Linked DNA regions of Homo sapiens: region 2 is linked to region 1. Evidence: promoter capture Hi-C in 16 types of primary human blood cells and fetal thymus (Javierre and others, 2016). All regions are on one chromosome and are shown on one strand. The core of a region is centred on a gene start or on the middle of the fragment in contact, and the rest is flanking DNA. Distances in the headings are between cores, read along the strand shown. Region 1 holds the start of TMEM273 (transmembrane protein 273). Region 2 holds the start of WDFY4 (WDFY family member 4).

Region 1 (5,761 bases), core at 1,620-4,119:
CAATAAAGGGGAAGCCCAACGTTTCCTTCATTTGCTTTCAACAGGCTGTCATATTCGCTTTTTGTTCACAAACATTTACTTACTGGAATTAACAACATATACAATCATTATGAAAAATGCCAATACAGAGAAATTAAGATGCTGTATAATTCTTTTTCCTAAGAAGATAAAGGATAGCCGGGCACGGTGGCTCACGCCTGTAATCCCAGCACTTTTGGAGGCCGAGGTGGGCGGAACACCTGAGGTCAGGAGTTCAAGACCAGCTTGGCCAACATGGAGAAGCCGCATCTCTACTAAAAATACAAAATTAGCCAGGTGCGGGGGCATGTGCCTGTAATCCCAGCTACTCGGGAGGCTGAGGCAGGTGAATTGCTTGAACCCAGGAGGTGGAGGTTGCGGTGAGCCGAGATCGCGCCATTGCACTCCAGCCTGGGCAACAAGAGCAAAATTCCATCTCAAGAAGAAGAAGGAGGAGGAGGAAGAGGAGGAGGAGGAGGAAGAAGAAGAAGAAGAAAAAGAAGAAGAAGAAGAGGAAGAAGAAGAAGAGGAAGAAGAAGAAGAAGAAGAAGAAGAAGAAGAAGAAGAAGAGGAAGAAGAAGAAAAAGAGGAAGAAGAAGGAGACTAAACACATGCAAAATATTACTACGGAACTCTAACCTGTAACTATCACTTCATCACTTCTGTTTCATCCGTGTCAGCTCATAGAAAGGCATGTCTTTCAACTAAATATATTGGATATTGTTGGAAATACTAAAGCATAATTAACTTAGTCAAATTCCTACTGATAGTCTCTTGTTTCTGGTTCCCACCGTGGTTTCGGCAGTGTTGAATAATACCCTGTGAAATATTTTGGGAGGGTTTTACCATATTATTTCATCAGGTTATATTCCTGGAGGTGGAATTTCTGGGTGAAGGGTTATGAACATCTTACATTTCGCTTACATTGACACCCAGATTTTGCCAAATTGCCCTCTGGAGAGAGTGAATAAATGAGTCCCCTCATATCCAATAGTGAGTGCTCACCACTTATCACATCCCATGCTAAGTGCTTTAAATGTGGTAACAGATTTCATTTTCCCAATAGTCCTGTGAGGTGTCCCCAACTTACAGATGAGAAAACTGGGCACAGAGAGGATTAATTCTTTGTCCAAGTTTTCCAGGCTGGTAAACAACAGAACAGGGATGAACATTTAAGGAGTCTCGTACTGGATACCCACTCCTAACCACTGTGTACCTCTATCAATAGTATATGAAAGCAGAAACGAGCTGTGATGCCTTGGCCCAGTGATTAAAACCTTATCTATAACATGCAGGTAATTGTGGCACCTATTGCACAGAGTTGCTGTGGGAACCAAATGAGCTCATGTAACATCTTCAGCAGAGCACCCAGCACATCGACACACTAAAAAATGCGAGGAGGTGTTAGATCTTTTATTATTTGTGAGACTGGACATTTTAAAGTTTTATTGTCTGTGATTCTTCAATGAATTGCCTGTTTATATAATTTGCACATTTTTCATTGGATTTCTTAAATTTAACTTCCTTTTTTTGTACCAGGACAGACTAGTTTGTTTATCTAGGTAAGTCAAAAGCAGAAATAAGGGTTACAACTTCTCTTACCTTCCACCACGTCTCTGGGCAGGCACACTGCATCTAACCACCGTGCACACCCTTAATCGCTGCTTGCTGGTGCCTGACATCCCTTCACAGTCACTGCCAACGGCCCGTTTCCATGTGTAAACTGATGGATGATGTGGCTGGCTGTCTGTCTGACATGCTGACTCCCAAGGCCAAAGTCTTTGCTCTCCCCTGCTTAGTGCAGACTTTAGATGGAAACCTGCCCACAGCACTAACTTTGCCCGCATTCAGGATACAACCTATTGGTCTGGAGACACAAGATTTAATCTGGAGACAGACTGCTTCCCATTGAGTCTCGGCCCAGTGCAAGTTCTGGGAAGGAACGTCTTTGTATATATGAGGGACGTATGCTGCCTTTTTAGGAAACAACAGTTGATATCAGAGGGGACTTCGTAAAGGCATGTGTCTCTCTCCATCTCTGTCTCCATCTATGCATATTTCTAACCATCTCTCTATGTCTCTGTCTGTCTCTCTCTCTCTCTCTTTGAGTTTCTTCCTCTCTGTCTACTTCTCTGACTTTATATTTCTCTCCTCCATTTGGCCCTACTTTGTTTTAGTCTTTGCCTCTCTCCTTTCTTCCTTCTTTCAAGGAATGCATTAAAGATAATTTTTAAAAACAAAGATACCTCTGAGTAGCAAAGAGTCTGCTTCACTGCATGAGAATTCTGATTCAACATTAAATGTATACCAGTATCTACATGCCTACATGTTCTCATTCTATGTCAGTATTTTGATTTGACTTAATTAAATTTAACTTAACTCTCTTGAAATCCCAAAAAGTAAACATGATTATCTCCCATCTCATTGGTTCAGAAAGTTAGGGAGTTTCAGAAGCTTATTCTAGTTTATCAGCAATGGAGCCACAGTTTACACCCAGATGTTTCTAGATCCCAAGCCCGAAGCTCCTTCTGCCATGACCCTTCCTATTCTCCTTTAGCCCAGAAGCATTTGTAAGTTGCAGCTGGAATGAGACAAACAAGATCATTGCTCACTACCAGATCAAAGTGAGAAACATCATCTGTGTAAAGGGACAGAGTTATGTTTTAGGGATCAAGCCCCAGTGGGCTAAGGCTCCCCCAGTTTCCTGCCCACTGAGGCTCCCCCGGGCCAGAGACCCCCGCAGTCCCCACTTACCCAGGAGGAAGAGGATCCTCAGCATGCTGACCCCCAAGTTCATGCTGGCGCTCTGCTCTTGGCTCCTGGCTCCTGGCTGCTGGCAGCGCAGGCACAATGAGCCATGTGACCCAAGGCTCTGGGGACAGGACAAGACCCACGTGACTGATGGGGAAGGAAACCACTGTCACAGCCAGGAGGCTGTTCAGTTCCTCTCAGCCTCTCTGAAGACAGGGCTGAAGGAAGCCCCTGTCATTCTGGACTCCACCAGAAGCTGGCTGTGATTAGACCCATTGTACATGCTGGGGTATTATACCCAGTGTTCTCTCCTATAATCTTCCCCACAGAGTGTGGGAACAAAGCTCGGTAAGGTGCGGTTTCTTGCCTAATGACCCATGCTAGTAAGTCTCAGAGAGGAATGTGGGCAAAGCCGGTCTGCCCTGCAGTCCAGCCCTTGCAGTAGCCTCTGCCTTGGAGCAGAAATAGGAAATGCCCCTCCAGCCAATAGTCCAGCTCGGTCACTGTTTTTGTGCCATGGGAGCCTCTGAGTCTAGGAATGCCTATCACTCTCTTCTCAGAATAAGATTTTTAAATCCCCAAACTAAAATAGATAAGGATCATAGTAGAAATCAGTAGTATTAACACACAGTTATCAAAATATTTTGTTAAACTTGTGAAGTAGAAATATACATGCTTATTTATCCACACAGTAAATAGCAAGATCTGGCAGCAGATGAAACAGCTACCACCATCTCGACATGGTGATAAATGGAATCGATATTGAGAGATACCTGTAACAGCTGGAATGTGGATGGAAAGACCTGTGATTCCTACCAGAAATAAAGTTACTGGGTGGTAATGTTTCTGTGGTTCGTTTGCCACACTACTATTAGAAGAAGATGCTAAGTGTTCCTTAGAGGTTAGAGAACAGAGATGTAATTTTTTTCCCATCCAAGTTTACAGGCCCCATGTCCAGGTCCTTAGCCTGGAGGAACTTTGGTAGTCACACAGGCTCAGCCAGCAGGCTGAAGGCCTTATGCTCCTGTACTCCTTTATACCTGCACGTTGTCACAATGCTTAGATGTTCAGCCAAAAACCCAAATGTGCAGGAAATGTCACTTTTTAAAATATAAATCAACTTAATGACAAGTCTTGAGTCCCCCACCCAACTGAGCTGGCAGAAATCGAGCTCTTTTCATTCTTGGGCTCCCTCAGTCAAATCCCTAACGGTAGCAGCCAACACCGTGAGCACTTGCTACTGAGCCCAATGCCATCTTAGCATGCAACCTGTCCAAGTCCACGCAGCAGTAAATGTGAGAGCTGGACTCGAAACCCAGGCCTTTGGCTGGCAGCCTATGCCCCTCAGGCTGCATGTGCCCTCTGTGTACAGGTACCATCCCCTGCCAAGGTCCAGCCAGAGGCAGTCCGATTGCCCTGGTGCCACAGATGCCCCCTGGGTTCTTCTGCATGGCTGCTGTGGCTCCTTCTGAGTTTCACATAAATAATGGACATGAGAGGAGAAGGCTGGTCATGAGAGAAGCAATTGGCTTCATCTGGGTGCCTTCAAGTTCCATCTGTCCACACTTTATTCATTTGATGAAATTAAGATCAGTTTCTACCTGCACCAAGAAACATACTCTCTTATTTCTCCTGGAATATGTGGAGTTTTCTTAATTTTGCCCCAGTTCATGGGAACATGTGTAAGAAAAATATTTCACTTTCCTCTAAGTGTATTGAAAGAAAATGCCAGTGCAGACCTGACAATCTGTAGACAGTGGCTGGGGACGGTGGAGCTACATTCAGGCCAGGCCCAGGGCTTCCAGCCACACCAGGCAGTTCTGTTTTTATATGAAATCAATAAGTTTCAAATGTCGGCAACTGATTTCAAAATACTTTCGCATGGGATGAGTCAACCTAAACACCAGCATGAACTTCTGCTCCCAAACACCTCTCCAAACATCCTTGGGAGCTCGACCTGTCCTACATACTCCCAGGAGGGGAAGCATCTGCAGCTACTTCTGCTTTCACTCTGCCGTAGCCTCCGAGTCTGGAAAATGCAGTCTGCTCCCTGCTTAGACAGGCAGAGGCTCAAAACGCCCCGTAAACTAGAATCTCACGAGATGCCCTGGCACCCAGCCACGGCACCTTGGCAAGATGGTGTGTGTCTTGTTGGCGTGGCACAATGCACCCAGAAGAGCGGATGCCCCACCCTGTACCCCTGTAATGAACGCCCAGTTCTGACCGTGAGGCTGCTCCTGGCACTGGCTCACACTGGCCCAGGAGCTTGTGAGGGCAGGGCCCAGGGCACCTGGCCTAGCACCTGACACAGTGCAGGCTCCTAGCGGTGTTTGTTGAATGAAGAATTCAATTCACCCCATCTATTTGGGAGGCTGAGGCAGGAGAATCGCCTGAACCCGGGAGGCAGAGGTTGCAGTGAGCCGAGATTGCGCCACTGCACTCCAGCCTGGGCGACAAGAGTGAAACTCTGTCTCAAAAAAAAAAAAAAAAAAGAAGTCGTTTCACTTTCTTATCTCATGCTCAGCCGGCCTAGCCTCCAGCCCACCTGGCAGGAATATTTTCCAGGTCATCTAGGTGAGGAAGGTCACTGCACTGACAAGCAGAAAAGAATGAGCCCCACTCCGGCAGCTCTGACATCCTGCCCCTCACTCGGATGTGGGGCCTCTTCCAAGGCCACCAAGCCTGGGACTCTTCTGTCCTTAGCACTGCACCCTCAGGACCAGCCAGGGAGCTCGTAGAATTCATGTCTCATGTGAACGCCTTTAGTGCAAGTCACAAAAAACTGCCAAACACCATCATTACGCATCAGATTTTTACAAATTTAAAGATAGGGAGGATTCAGCACGCAGATTTGTTTATTGGCCTTACATAGAACTGTGCACCCAACAATTAGAAAATAGCCATTCAATTCAGCATGCATGCAACATTTATACCCCAAAACGGTCTCACACTGGGCCATAATACAAGTCTCAAAAATTTCAAAGAAAAGGTG
Region 2 (5,761 bases), core at 1,483-3,982, 500 kb before region 1:
ATTCTAGGCTGTGGTTCTTACTTCTTCAGTGTGGAGTCTGAGCTTCAGAGTTTTATGGTTTTAAATTTCCTCTCATCATTACCTTCATGTTTAGCCTGCAGGAGGACTCCTCTGATTGGTGTTTCAAGTTTGGTCTGCGGATTGGGGAGGAAGGAATACAAGAGGGCAGCTCTGAGCTTGGTGGGGTGAGGGCTCTGAGGTGTAAAGTGAAGTCCCACAATGCTCAGCAAGGTCTCTCCACACTCCATGGGATGCGACTGCAACATTCCAAGCACTGCACATTCTCTGTTACCTCCTTCAGTGCTCGGCCTTGGGTCAGTTGACCTCTGCTGGGTCTCTTGGAGTCTCACCCTGTGCACACATAGGAATCCTTGGCCAAGGGCACACACAATGAGTTCCCACAAGGCACACTCTCCTCAGGAACCTGCCCTGAACATACCAGAGCCTTCAGCAGCTTTGAACTCTGACTTAAACCTTTTCAGTTCAGGGAGACTACTGTCTCTGGGGCCCCACCTGCCTGCATCATAGCAGAAAAAGCATCACTAGAAAAAACTCCAGGGCAATTGTGGGGCTCACCTTGTGTGTTTTCCTTATCTCAAGGATCACAGTCTTGCTATTCAATGCCTGAAAACAATTATCTTGTGTATTTGAACTATTCTATAGTTGCTTTCAATGGGAGGGTATGTCCTATACCAGTTACACCACCATAACTGGGTGCAGAAGTAAAACTGCCATTTTGGGGCAATTGTTTAAAAATCAGAGAATCTTACATTGCCCTTTAACAAAAATACACATTTACATTAGCAGTTCATAGTTGCCCTGGCTGCTTCAGTGTCTTAGCTTTGGCAACTCTCTCACTAATAATAGCTTGCATTTGCACAGCCCTTTTCAGTATTTAAAAACTCTCTTGGCCGGGTGCGCTGGCTTACGCCTGTAATCCCAGCACTCTGGGAGGCCGAGATGGGCGGATCACGAGGTCGGGAGATCGAGACCATCCTGTCTAACACGGTGAAACCCCGTCTCTACTAAAAATACAAAAAATTAGCCAGGCGAGGTGGTGGGCGCCTGTAGTCCCAGCTACTCAGGAGGCTGAGGCAGGAGAATGGCGTGAACCCCGGGGGGCGGAGCCTGCAGTGAGCCGAGATCGCGTCACTGCACTCCAGCCTGGGCGACAGCGAGACTCCGTCTCAAAAAAAAAAAACCTCTCTTGCAAATATTATTTGATTTGTTCCTTCTAACAAGGCATTCATTCATTCTGCAAATAAGATGTCAATTATCTCAGTTAAGATAGTGAGAATTTCAACCTTGAGTTTCTAGCTCTGAATTTAGTGCTCTTTACCTGCCTGCTGCTGGCTACCCGGCAAGGTGCTGGGGTGGGTAGAAGGTAGGAGACCTGGGTGCAGGTGGGCCCTCCAGCAGACTTTGCGAGATCCCACTATGACAGACTCTCCGCGCTTCCTCTGGGCATTCACAGGCATGGGGTCCTGGCCTGTCCCATGCTGGCCACCCTTCCTGCCTCTGTGGAAGTTCCTCTGTCTAATCCGCTCTTACCATAGGCCTCTGATTTCAGGCAATATCTTCTTGTAGATTTTATTTATGATTTCATTGGTGACAATGACGAGGGGTTTTCATCATATACAACAAACACTTCACTGCAAATTCTCTAAGGTTTTCTCTTTCCCTTGGCTGGCACTGCATGTATCCTTTCAATTTCTCTTTTCTTTTCTTTTTTTTCTTTTTTTTTTTTTTGAGACGGAGCTTCGCTCTTGCTGTCCAGACTGGAGTGCAGCTGGATAGATCTCCTATTTTGGCTGCTGTCTACTGACAAGTTTGCACTGGTGGAGGTTGAGGTTTTGTGACAAATGTTATTTTCCTCTTTAAACCAATCTTGGAGCTTTACTCCATGTCATAACAAGTGATGTTGTTGCTGCCTCTCAGTCAGTCATGCATGGTCCACTGGTTTTGTGAGCTAGAGACAAGCGATGAGCTGCACTGAGGATCAAGGATCAGGCATTAGCGCTAACAAGTGCCCTTGCTCTTTGGCAAAATTCTCCTTTTACAGAGCACAAGCAGGATTGTGTGTGAATGGACATGCTTGTTTGTACTGTGGAGATGACGTTATGGATAGGTGACATGGATAATTCAGCCTAGTTTATATACTCAGAGGAATGAGAATTTGGAGTCTGAGTTTCAGAGACTTCCATTCTATGGTTTTAGATGTCCTCTCATCCTTGCCTCAGTGTTGGCCGCAGGAGGACTCCCCTCATTGGTGGTTCAAGTTCTATCTGAGGATGGGGGAGGAAGAAATCCAAGTGGGCAACTCTGAGCTTGGTGGGGTGAGGGCTGCCCAACCCATGCCATGTCCAGGGGTGCACTTAAACACACCTCTGATTAGATTCACCTAACACCATCATTGTTCTCATTTTGCCAGAGGCCCAGAGAGGAGAGGTGTGCACCAGTGGTCACACGGCTAGTGAAGAGGGGACACAGAATCCAGACCTACTCTTCTAGGGCTGGGCTGTACTTTCCATTTTGTCCTTGGCCCCAACCAGCACCGCTTGACCACGGAGGCTGCACAGCCAGCCCCAAGGGGCCTTGCTGCAGAACCCAAGTCACCCGCCAGAACTCCAGCAGCTCCGTGGTCGGCTGGAGAGTGGGCAGAGTCAGGCATCTGCCGGCTCTCCACTTCTGCTTTCTCCAGGAAATGAGCAGAGACCCAGCTCCAGTGATTCAGAGTGAAACGGCGCTGAGGACTGACGATGTGGGGCCGGGTCCTCTTCCCCCGAGCCTGAGGGGCTGCAGCTGGGGATAGGGGGCCCATGCCTTCTGATGTCTACAGGCGCTGACGGCCACCCCTCCAGGTAGGCCACCTTGCTCTTGGCCCAGCCAGGCCAGCCTAGAGGTGGGCATATGGGCGCCGCCTGTCAGCGTGGGGCCTACTGGCTGCCTCCTGGGAGGCTGACTATGGGGCACATGTGACCCAGTGCCTGGTTTGGGTTTGTGAATGTGGGAGAGGAGGTGAGCTGGGGAGCAGGAAGTGTGTGTGGCGTGGGGGGCCCATGTGGTCAGGGCCACTCCAGGGCCTGGGTCTGCCTGAGTGTGTGTCACTGCTGAAGTTTGGGAGTCAGGCTGGGCTCCAGCAGCACTCCTCGACCTCTGACGGTAGGTCAAGTCCTTTCTCGGGGTCCTGCTATGAAGGGAACCCTGGGAAGGGCTGACACGGGCTTTCCTGGTTGTCGAGGGGGCGGAGAGAGCAGGCCGACAGGACAGTGAGGCTCGCCCTCCAAGCTCCCTCATAGGCCTCTGAGGAGTGCAGAGTTGGAGGGCCATTTCCAACGGGCCTCAGAGGGAGCTGGTCTATCCCGGCCCTGTCATTACTCCACTGGGTTCTGGTAAGTAGGTGCCTCCCTGGGCTCACTTCCCTCATCTGAATTATTACAGCAAACCATTGAAACGCCTGCATTTTCTGCCTAAGCAGGGCCACCTGCTCAGTAAGGACTGATTCTTCTTTTCCCCTGAAATGAAACTTCTAGAACACTAAACCGATCCTTTGTCCCAACTCATCTAAAGTGTGGGGGGGCTGGTTTGATAACTAAGGGCTCTATGCATTACCCTTTCCATGGAGCACACTAATTTTAATATGAGTTTATGTATAGTCATTCATTTAGTTATTTAACAAATAGGTATTGAGAAACCACGCCCTGCCAGGCTCTGGTCAAAGCGGACAGGGGTCTACGGTGCTCAGCAGGTGGGAGAATAGCAGGTAGGGTGGGGGTCTTGGGAGGGTGGGGATGGCTCTAGTCTTCTGAGAGGGGACCTGTGAGGGAGGCCGAGTCCTGTGGGTTTCTGAGAAGTGTTCTTGATAAGGGTCTGGAGGAGGAGACCTCGTGGAGGTTGGTGTGGCAGAGCCGGGTAAGGGGCATGCCTGGGGTTCTGGCCAGAGAGGTAGGGAACAGGGTCAGGTCAGGGAGGCCCTTCCTGTCTGTCCATCCTGAGCACATGGGCTATTCTTTCATGAACTTGGAAAGATTTTCTGTGTTGAAAGAAAAGAAAATTTCGGCCAGGCGCAGTGGTTCACGCCTGTAATCTCAGCACTTTGGGAGGCTGAGAGGGGCAGATCACCTGAGGTCAGGAGTTCAAGACCAGTCTGGACAACACGATGAAACTCCATCTCCAAAAAAAAAAAAAAAAAAGAAGGAAAGAAAAGAAAATTTAGAAAGACCATAATAAGATAGAAGTAATAAAAACAGCATAAACCCTGTGTGCTGACACCTTAGATTTTTTTAAAGATCAGCATCATCTCTGAGGTCCTCTTCATGCCCATCTTTCACCTTCCCTCTTCAGAAGCAGCAACAGTCCAGAATTTTGGGTTTATTGTTCCCTTGCTTCTTTTTCTAATTTTACATCCCATATTTAAATCGCTATATATGTATGATTGCAAGTTGTTGAACTCTGTAAACATGGAATTAAATATTCTTTTAAAATTTGCCTAATTGGTTCAAAAGTTTGTTTCTGAAATTTCTTCATATTGTTGCATGTACCTGTAGATAATTAAAGTTTTCTGCAGTACAGTATTCTATTAGATGAGTGTACCTCAATATATTTATCTGAGATGCTGTTGATGGCATTTTAGGTATTTCAAGAGTTTATTTTTTTTTCTATTATAAGCAGTGCCGCTAGAACTATTTTTGTACATGCATCTTGGGGCATGTGTGCAAGAATTTATCTTGGGTATATACTCTAGAAATAGAATTGGTGGGTCATAGGTTGTACATATCGTCAGCCTTACTGGATGTCACCACGTTGTTTTCCAAAGTTTTTGCCTCATTTTACCCACCCCTCAGCAATGCACCAAAGTTTCTGTTGCTCCACTTCTTCATCAGCATTTGATATTGTCTGGTACTGTATTTCTGCCAATCTGGTAGAAATGAAAAGCTATCTTAGCATGTTTTTAATTTGCATTGACCAAATTACTAAGGTTGGACATCTTTTTCATATGTTTATTGGCCATTTGGGGTCCCTTTTCCTGTTCACATTTTTTGGCCATTTCTCATCGGGTTACCTGTCTTTTATCCTATTGATTTGCCATAATTCAATACATATTCTGGGTACTACTTTTTGTCATTTATATATATAACAAATATTTTTCATTTGTTGGTGCCTTGTCTCCTTATATTCCTGTGGTTTTTATTAATGACTGAATTTCTTAGTTTCAAATAAGTTTATCCACCTGTCGCTTTATGATTTATACTTGTTATGTGTTATCTAAGAAATTCTCCACTATAAGGTTGTAAAATTATTCTCATATTATTTTCAAAAAATGTTATAATATTACTTTTTACACTGAAGTCTCTAGTCTGCCTGGAAATGGCTTTTGTGTATGGCGTGAGGTGGGAAGAAACTTTATTTTATTCTGCTTTTCCCATATGGATAACCAAGAGTCTTGGCACCATTTATTTAATAGGCCATTCTTTTTTTTTTTTTTTTTTTTTGAGATGGAGTCTTGCTCTGTCACCCAGGCTGGAGTGCAATGGCATGATCTTGGCTCACTGCAACCTCCACCTCCCAGGTTCAAGCAATTATCCTGCCTCAGCCTCCCTAGTAGCTGAGATTACAGGTACATGCCACCACACCTGGCTAATTTTTTTTTTTTTTTTTTGAGACAGATTCTTGTTCTGTCACCCAGGCTGGAGTGCGGTGGTGCGATCTCAGCTCACTGCAACCTCCACCTCCCAGGTTCAAGCGATTCCTCTGCCTCAGC

What was found. Contacts are between HindIII fragments. The CHiCAGO score rates a contact against its expected background, and 5 or more counts as called.
Region 2: the fragment with the promoter of WDFY4 here is called in contact with the fragment with the promoter of TMEM273 in region 1 in 1 of 17 cell types (neutrophils); the score reaches 6.9 in neutrophils.

Annotation. Positions count from the first base shown.
Region 1 is chr10:49,185,522-49,191,282 of GRCh38, forward strand. TMEM273 (transmembrane protein 273) reads right to left here and starts at 2,870. Exons shown (of 7, transcript NM_001288740.3): 1 at 2,773-2,870. The coding sequence starts at 2,815. RefSeq lists enhancers at 4,699-4,858, 5,319-5,538. The HindIII fragment of the contact is 10,255 bases long and covers 2,471-5,761 here.
Region 2 is chr10:48,682,141-48,687,901 of GRCh38, forward strand. It overlaps WDFY4 (WDFY family member 4), which reads left to right and starts at 2,733. Exons shown (of 62, transcript NM_001394531.1): 1 at 2,733-2,861. RefSeq lists enhancers at 1,655-1,734, 2,665-2,964, 2,983-3,523 and a silencer at 1,955-2,004. The HindIII fragment of the contact is 16,271 bases long and covers 1-5,761 here.